Linked DNA regions of Homo sapiens: regions 2 and 3 are each linked to region 1. The links are contacts of gene promoters, found by promoter capture Hi-C in blood cells and fetal thymus (Javierre and others, 2016). All regions are on one chromosome and are shown on one strand. Each heading gives the region's core, a stretch centred on a gene start or on the middle of the fragment in contact. The rest is flanking DNA. Distances are from core to core; before and after follow the strand shown.

The links. Contacts are between HindIII fragments. The CHiCAGO score rates a contact against its expected background, and 5 or more counts as called.
Region 2: the fragment with the promoter of SPTLC2 here is called in contact with a fragment that was not itself captured in region 1 in 4 of 17 cell types (non-activated CD4 T cells, total CD4 T cells, neutrophils and 1 more); the score reaches 7.0 in non-activated CD4 T cells.
Region 3: the fragment with the promoter of VIPAS39 here is called in contact with a fragment that was not itself captured in region 1 in 1 of 17 cell types (non-activated CD4 T cells); the score reaches 6.7 in non-activated CD4 T cells.

What each region holds. Positions count from the first base shown.
Region 1 is chr14:76,152,399-76,155,106 of GRCh38, forward strand. It overlaps GPATCH2L (G-patch domain containing 2 like), which reads left to right. Exons shown (of 10, transcript NM_017926.4): 2 at 1,956-2,627. The coding sequence starts at 1,966. Among named protein-coding and RNA genes, the nearest start is that of GPATCH2L, 1.8 kb to the left of the region's middle. The HindIII fragment of the contact is 1,370 bases long and covers 654-2,023 here.
Region 2 is chr14:77,615,251-77,617,958 of GRCh38, forward strand. SPTLC2 (serine palmitoyltransferase long chain base subunit 2) reads right to left here and starts at 1,387. Exons shown (of 12, transcript NM_004863.4): 1 at 1,198-1,387. The coding sequence starts at 1,329. RefSeq lists enhancers at 644-853, 1,182-1,714 and silencers at 1,034-1,233, 1,374-1,423, 1,754-1,813. The HindIII fragment of the contact is 6,254 bases long and covers 1-2,708 here.
Region 3 is chr14:77,456,238-77,458,945 of GRCh38, forward strand. It overlaps VIPAS39 (VPS33B interacting protein, apical-basolateral polarity regulator, spe-39 homolog), which reads right to left and starts at 1,364. Exons shown (of 20, transcript NM_001193315.2): 1 at 1,258-1,364. It overlaps AHSA1 (activator of HSP90 ATPase activity 1), which reads left to right and starts at 1,856. Exons shown (of 9, transcript NM_012111.3): 1 at 1,856-2,032. The coding sequence starts at 1,953. RefSeq lists enhancers at 1,162-1,684, 1,303-1,762, 1,685-2,207, 1,933-2,112. The HindIII fragment of the contact is 4,049 bases long and covers 1-2,708 here.

The DNA.
Region 1 (2,708 bases), core at 89-2,588:
GCAGTTTCTGCCCTAGAAGAGCCGATCCCCGCCCCTCGTGAGCCCAAATGAGCAGTTGCCTCCTGCCTCTCCCACCTCCTACTCCGCCCCTCACTTCCACCCTGCTCCTGTCTCTCTTCTTACTTGCTGTCCACCAGCTACCCGTTCCTTCCTGTGCGTGACTCAGCCTCATCTCTGCCCGGGTGCGTGCCTGGCCGCCGGGTCCTCTCGAGAGTGTGCATCCGCGACTGGAGATGGGGAGTTCTAGGGTTCTTTTGTCACTACTGTTGGAATTACAGGCTTTGAGGCAGGAAAGGATTCTGCACAGGCATTCGACTGCAAGTTGTTTGATGACTTCGTTCCATGTTCAAGTTTGTGCTGTTCTGCCTGAGGTTTTTATTTGTTCTTTTGTTTTTGTTTTTTGTATTTTTGTTGCCTGAGTTTTTAAAGCAGTAATTCTTTATTAGGGAAGTAGATTTTGACATGCTGTTCCCACTTGTTTCTTTATTTTGGTCTTAGGGACAGTTGTCTCCCAAACCTCAATCATGGCATTTTAATCCACTTTTTTTTTTCCCATTTTTTCCCCTTCTTTTCACAGGTGTTGATAAACCACTTCTTAATGCTTAAAAGAACTTGGTCTTGTTTAAATGTATGTGCTTTTGGACACTTTGAGAAGCTTCGTTTGTATGGTAGTTTTGGAAGTAGGTGTCACTATTGCTCCTACAGGTGTGGCAGATAAGCCAGAGGACTGTTTTCCTGTCTTTAAGTTCATTGGCATAGGCACAGCATGAAAATAGGTTTTAGAAAGCCCTTTGCAAAGTGAAAACTGAATGAATGGGAATATGGTCAGAGAGTGGCACCACTTAGAATTTTAAGCTGATCTTGAAATACTTTGGGCATAGAGGCAAGAGAAAAGTGCTAAAAATTTAATATGTATTTAATTAGATGCTGTACAAATTAAATATTTCCCCTTAAGGGGGAATTTTGAAGATTGCTCCTACTACTGTCATTTCTTGAAATGTTTGTCTCTGAAGTGACCCCTGAAGTGTGATGTTTGGTTTGAGGATGAACAGAAAAATAAGAAATTTTGGAAAGCAGTTTGGCCAGAAATCTTAGAAACTTCACCCTATCCCTGTCATTTCAGCTGCTATTGTATCCTAGTTTTCTGTGATTGTGTGGCACTGAAGCACATAACTAGGACCAACATTTATTTTCTGGAGGGTAGGAGAGGGGCTTAAAAATTGTTAATTATTCAAAAATATATGACATACTGTATAAGGTTCTATACCTGGTAGCTTCCAGGTGGTAGTTGGTACCAGAATGGGCGCAAACTTAGTCTCTTCTCCATTCTGACTTCAAACCTGGGTCACTACAATTTCTTGGATCACGAAAACTGCATTCTTCCTTAAATGGTGTCACTAAGTTGTCTTTCTGTTTCTTTCTGCCATGGTCATTGTCAGCAGTGACCCCAGGCCAAAGAACAGTTTTTCATTCATTCTCAATACCTCGATGAGACCATGTGCTACTCTGTGTTTCCACAACTCTAGTGTGATTTTGAAGTTGTATGTTTTTCTGTTCCTGTCTAGTGAGACAGTCTCTAATCTTTCTGGATCTCATCATTAGGTAATTCAATGACAAGTTTAATTGGGGAAAAGAGAGAAGGATCTAGTCCCCCGAATTTGTTTTGGGTCCTGTCCCAGTTGTCTTCTGGTTAGTAGGTTTTTGTGCTTAAGAATATGTTGACTTCAGGCATTTAACAAGGGACAAAACATCTATTTTTAGTGACTTAAGGAAGTGGTAGGAACAGAATCTAAGTGTAGCCAGATGAAAGGTGACTTATTTTGTTTAGACAGGCAGAACTGTGGACTACCATGATCTGTTTCATCAAATTATTCCAAAACAACAGATCCTTTTTCAGGCTTTCTTTTTCTTTTTCTTTTCTTTCTTTCTTTTTTTCCTAAACTTCCTTTTGGCAGATGTGGCCTCATGGATGAGCTGGTACACGACTTAGCCTCAGCCTTGGAGCAGACATCTGAGCAGAATAAGCTTGGTGAACTGTGGGAGGAGATGGCGCTGAGCCCCCGACAGCAGAGGCGGCAGCTTCGGAAACGCCGAGGTCGGAAGCGTCGTTCTGACTTCACTCACCTGGCAGAGCATACCTGCTGCTACAGCGAGGCCTCTGAGTCAAGTCTGGATGAGGCCACTAAGGACTGTCGAGAAGTGGCTCCGGTGACCAATTTTAGTGACTCTGATGACACAATGGTAGCCAAACGACACCCAGCTCTCAATGCCATTGTCAAGAGTAAGCAACATTCTTGGCATGAATCTGACTCCTTTACTGAAAATGCACCTTGTCGACCACTCAGGCGCAGGCGGAAGGTGAAGCGAGTGACATCAGAGGTGGCTGCTAGCCTTCAGCAGAAGCTGAAGGTGTCAGATTGGAGCTATGAGAGAGGCTGCAGGTTCAAGTCTGCTAAGAAGCAGCGTCTGTCCCGCTGGAAGGAGAATACTCCCTGGACCTCATCAGGCCACGGATTGTGTGAATCAGCAGAAAATAGGACTTTCCTAAGCAAAACAGGAAGGAAAGAAAGGATGGAGTGTGAAACAGATGAACAAAAACAGGGCTCTGATGAGAACATGTCAGAATGGTGAGATCTCCCTTACTAAGTCAAAGATTTTCCTGGTTAATTTTTCCCAAAGTGCACATCCATGGTCTTAGTGGGTTCTAC
Region 2 (2,708 bases), core at 137-2,636, 1.5 Mb after region 1:
AGGGGAGGTCAAGTCTGCTTTACTTATTTTTCCCCTCAACTCAGTCTCAATATCTCAACATGACCTGGAAAAATGCTTTATTTTCTGCTTCGCAGCAAACAGTAACAGACCTATCCATCATAACTACTCATCTGGGGAGTAGTTATGTTAAAGCCAAATTAAGATCACCATCCTATCAAACTGCAACAGTCACACTCCCGCTAAAGGGAAACAGAGTACTTTCTAAGCGTTCCTTAATATCTGTACAAGACTTAAACGTATTAAAGTCAACTGCAAAATTATCGCAACACTCTCTTCCAGGAACACCGATCTTGCATCTTTTTAACCAGCTCATCTTTAAAAACACATTTCAACAGAATATCTGTCAGTCCAGACCACTGTAAGGTTGATAATAAGCATTGTCTTGAATTTAGAACTTTTCAAAATATTTTAGAACTGCCTGAACTTGGTTGATGATTCAGCATGGTTAATTAGTATAGAGTCATCGCAAGTCACCACCAGGCTAAACAATCCCCTTGTGTGATAGCACTCGTGTTCAGGAAAGGGTCGAAGGGGCCACCTAATCCAACCTGGAGCCTGGGGTAGAGTCTCACCACCGGCAGAGTTAAGAGAATGATGCTTTCGAGGGACCAGCTTGGATTCCCTGCCAGATCTATGGACCAATGTCCTGGTTGGGGACTGAACGTGGTAGTCCAGAATGTGGTTGGGAGAGGCTGGGTGTGTTTCCATCTGACACCACCGCCTAATTTTCTTTGCTTCTTAAGGACCCCATGGGTGGTTTTCTTTGGACGACTGCAGGACTTTAAAAGGAAGCAATAACCTCAGGGGTTTGAGAAGGGACCCTCCGGAGCCCTTGGGCGGCTCCCACTGGAGTCCGAAGGGCCCCTCATCGCTTCCCCTGGGGACAGCACACACTTCTGGCAGAATGGGGCAGAGAAAAGTACCCGGAGCTCTGAGCAGAACCCAGAGCTCCGGGAGTAAGACCTCCAGGCGCGGAGAGGTGGGGAGCCCCCGAGCCGTCCTTGAGCCTCCAGGCTCGTGGAGGTCGGGCCAGCGGCCGGACACTGCCGCCCACACCTGCGAACGGCGCCCGCCCCGCGGATTGCCCAGCGGATGGCCCGGAGACCTCGCCCCGCCCGGCCGCCCCTCCGCCAGTCCACACCGCCACCCCGGCCCCGCCGCGCGGGCCCCTCGTACCTGGCCGGCGGCGGCTGCGGCTGCGGCTGCAGCGCTGCTCCTCACGTACCCGTTCCGTACTTCCCCGTTCGCCACGCAGCCATTCGCCCGCACCGTGCGGCGGCAGCAGCAGCCTCCGGGCTCCGGCCGCATCTTCCTGGCAGCACCAGGCGCAAGGCAGGCTCTGTAGGCGGTGGCAGCGGCGGCGGCTGCTCCAAGTCCCGCTCCGCACCCCACCCACCTCCCCGAAACCGGAAATGGCTGCAGCGCCGCCGCCAATTCCCGGGCGGGCCTTCACAGAGGGCGGGGCCCTCTCCGCAGAGGACCGGTCTCGGCCAAGGCCACGCAGCGAAGGGAAAAAGCGGCGGGGACCTGCCGAGAGGGATGTGGTCCTGAGGACCGCTGACCAATCTGGAAGAGAAGGAGGCGGACCCCATGCTGCTGCCTGGCCAATCACGGACGAGAGCAAAGCGCCTCGCCGGTGGAGAGGGGGCTTCTCTAGAGGGACTCCAGGGCCTGGCACCTGATTGGAGGCCGCATCCAGGTCCGGGGTAGGGCTTGCCTGTTTAATGGTCCAGACCGAGGAGGAGGCGGAGCCCAGGGAAAAGTAGCCAATTAGAGTGTGAGGAAATAAAAGGGGCTGAGCCGAAGTCTCTAGAGCGGGTTCCCAGGTTCTCCAGGACAGGTGGCGCCCTCTTTGCCCTTGCCTCGTGGGAAGTTTTGGAGTTTATGTCCTAGCCCAAGACAGGCAGCTCGCTTATTTAATTAGCTGATTCCTCTGTGAGTGTTTATAGAATAGATTTTTTGACAATCTCTCATCATTCTTCAATATGCGCCACACATTCACTATTTCTGAATTATTATAAGTAATAATTCAGATGCCTTTTCACGTGCCCTTCACATTTGCCCTTGGCAGGGTTTTCTATACAGTCTCCTTTAAATTAAGTCTTTCCTTCAAAGTTAGAAAACCTGGTCTAATTCCAACTCTGCCAATAACTGGAAGCTAAAACTTGAGCACTGTGTTTAACCACTTTAGAAGCCAAATTCTTTAAAATGGAGTTAATACTTCCTGCTTCATAGACTTACAGCAAGAATTATATCATTAACCCATTATGCACCTCTTATAATACTAGGCTTATAGTAGGAGTATAATAAATATTATTTTCTCACCCTTTTAGTTCCATCTTCCCATGGGGTTAGAAAGCAAGGAAATTGATCTACATTACAATTAGAGACTTTCTGTTATCCATAAAGAATTTAGTATCATAATTGAGAGTATGGACTCTGGAGTCGGTCTGGGTTTTAAATCCTAGCTGCGCCACTTACTAGCTGAGTGACCTCTATGTGTCTTCATCTGTTCAGTGGGGACAATAATAGTTGTCGTGAAGATTGAATAAGTTTATGTATGTAATGTATTTTGTACAGGACCTAGCAATTAGTAAGCATTCATTAAGTGTTGGTTACTAGTAATTGCTAAATGCACCTATGAGAATCCGTGCATTCTTTCCCCACCCTGCAGGAGCTTTAGAAAG
Region 3 (2,708 bases), core at 114-2,613, 1.3 Mb after region 1:
AGTGCTTAGTGCCTGACCCAAAATTAACACTCAATAGTAACTTTTATTATTAATACATCATCCTGGTACCTTGGGAAAAGCTAAAAAAGAAAATATTTTTTAGCAATCCTAAAGATTAAAAAAAATACAAAAATTCTGAGTAGCCACAAATGCTGAAGATGTGTATAGAACATATAAATGTCTCTGGCACACATGTCAGTTCATAAATCACTCTGTCATTCGTTTGATCCTCAGAACAATCTTGTAAGGTAGGCCTGGGAGATTCCATTTCCATGTTACTCATGGGGAAAGTGAGGCACAAAAGAGTTCAGTATCAAAGCCACTTTGTTAAATGCTCCTATTTCAAATTACAATCCAGGCTTTCTGGCTCCTAGACCATTTCTAGTGTCTTGCATGGTCCTTCTACCTATTTTTCACTTTCCAGAAAACTAGAGATCATTCCTTCACTATAGTAATTATCTACAGATAGACATAGAATGTGTCTAACAAACACAATAATCTACCAGAGGATTTCTGGAATCTTTTTAACCATGCAATGGCAGTAGACAACTGCCATCAATTTGTATTTATAACGCCAAATGAGAAGCTAGGTTTACTTGGCAAGTATAGATAATGATCTAGTGGCTCTAGAGTTATAAAGTAATCAGGTACGATTGTCACTCTTAAGAGTGACAGGTGCTTCAACATGATTTAAAATACTTCAGAGGTTTGTCTTTATCGTCTCTTGTTTACTGACAGCCCACAAGGCAGGGTGAGAGACCTCAGGGGAGAACAGGAACTTTACAAAGGAAAACAGAAGAATCAGCAAGAAAACCACAACATGCTCCCTGCCTCAGAAAACTCCAAAAACCACCTACTGAGAAGTCAGACTTGGTTTCAATTATCTTCCGAGCCAGGAAGATACAGGTGAGGCTTGTGAACTGAGACCAGGGAACAAGAGTTAAGCTAGGATGACTCTACGGGTGAACGTCCAGGAAGCCATGGATCTACCGCAGTCGTCAGAGCCCAGCGGATCCCTGGCAGAGTTAAATGCTCGTTCTGAACCAAATGTCCGCTTCCGAACCAATCGCTGGTGCTCACTCGCAGCCCCAGTCCCAAGCGTACTCCAGCGCCCAAGGGTCGCCCTGACTGAAAGAAGAGAATCAGGCCTGTAGTCATAGGGTGTAGGGATGCCTCCTAGAAGAGGGGAAAAGATCAAGATGCGGAGAGGCTGGATCCAGCCAGATACGCGACCCAAGGGGCTTGGGACACCCTCACCTCTTCCGCACAGAGCCCTCCCTCTCAGGACAGCGCCAGCCTCCGCCGCCGCTGGACCAGCCCTTCTATTCAGGCTGTGCAGCTTAGAGAAGGGGGCGGAAGGGAATAATCGTAGGGCGGAGAGAAAACACGAATAACGAGACCGCAGGGCATGCTGGAAGTCGTAGTTTCTTCTGCCTCTGCTGTCAGGCGCTGTCCCGACGAACCACAAGGCTTCTTGACTACAGCCCCCAGAAACCCCAAGCACCGTGCTAGGTCATTTCCTCTCCTTTCCGCGAGACCTTCCGCGGTTATCCAGCGAGTCACGTAGCAAGACTACAATTCCCATGAGGCTCAGCAAGGGCGATTTAGGGTCCAGGGAAGCAATGAGACGTGTTCTTTGTTTTCCTATGGGTGAGGAATGGTTGTATGAGCAGTTGGGTTTCGGGACGCTTTTTGGGGAGAACCCGATGGAGTCTGAAGGATCTCTAAATCAGGCGGAACCCACGGTGCGGCGAGTTGGGACGGAAGTAACCGGTGGGAGTGGGGAGGAGCCGGAAGTTAAGGAGGGGAGGGGGTGGAGGGAAAAGCAAGCCAGGAGGTGCTTGCGGCCGCTTCTAGTAGTTTCCAGGCGCTGCCGGGCGGCTGGCACTAAGCGGTCCTGAGGCTGTGGCTACGGCTGCTCCGGAGCTGGTGGCGCCGCGATAGGAGAGCCGATGGCCAAGTGGGGTGAGGGAGACCCACGCTGGATCGTGGAGGAGCGGGCGGACGCCACCAACGTCAACAACTGGCACTGGTGAGGGCCAGAAAAGCAGGCCGGCCTTGGGAGACCTGCGGCCGGGCCAGGGTTTCAGGGTTCCTAGAACCTCGGCCCGGACAGAGCTGGGGCTGAGGTAGCCCTGTCCGGAGATGGGGGTGGGTCCTTCCTGTGGCAGGGGTCCGTAGCCCCAGGCCTCTCCACTCCGCGGTCACCTTCTCAGTGTTTGAGGGGAGGGAGATGGACGTGGAGGGCTGCGCCCCAGAGGAGGGTTGTCAGAGAGACTAGGAGATAACGCCCTGGCTGCTGCATCCAGCCCGAGCAGGGAGGTGCTTATTACACGTGGCCAGAGGAGTCACTGAGACTGGAACCTCCTTTGATTGTGTTGGGAGATAGCTGTGAAAGGCCTAAGGCCAGGGGTCTGTAATTCCTATTTTGCGGCCTGCGGTAAAATTAAAAGTCATTCATAGGGGACCGCTGCAGCGGTCCCGCGGGAGATTGAGAACGTGTTGTGCAGGTGCTCAGAGCTCAGATAGCTGCGGCCTCTCACCCGGAACTATCAGGTCGGGTGTGTTGGAACTCCAGGTTGCCGAGCAGCCGTGGTTTTATAACCTGACCGTTCTTAAAATAACTGCCCTCCTTCATGAAATCTTCCCAAAGTAATATTAGTTTCCTTATTTTTGAATTCCACTGAACTTTTTTCGTAATGTTTGTA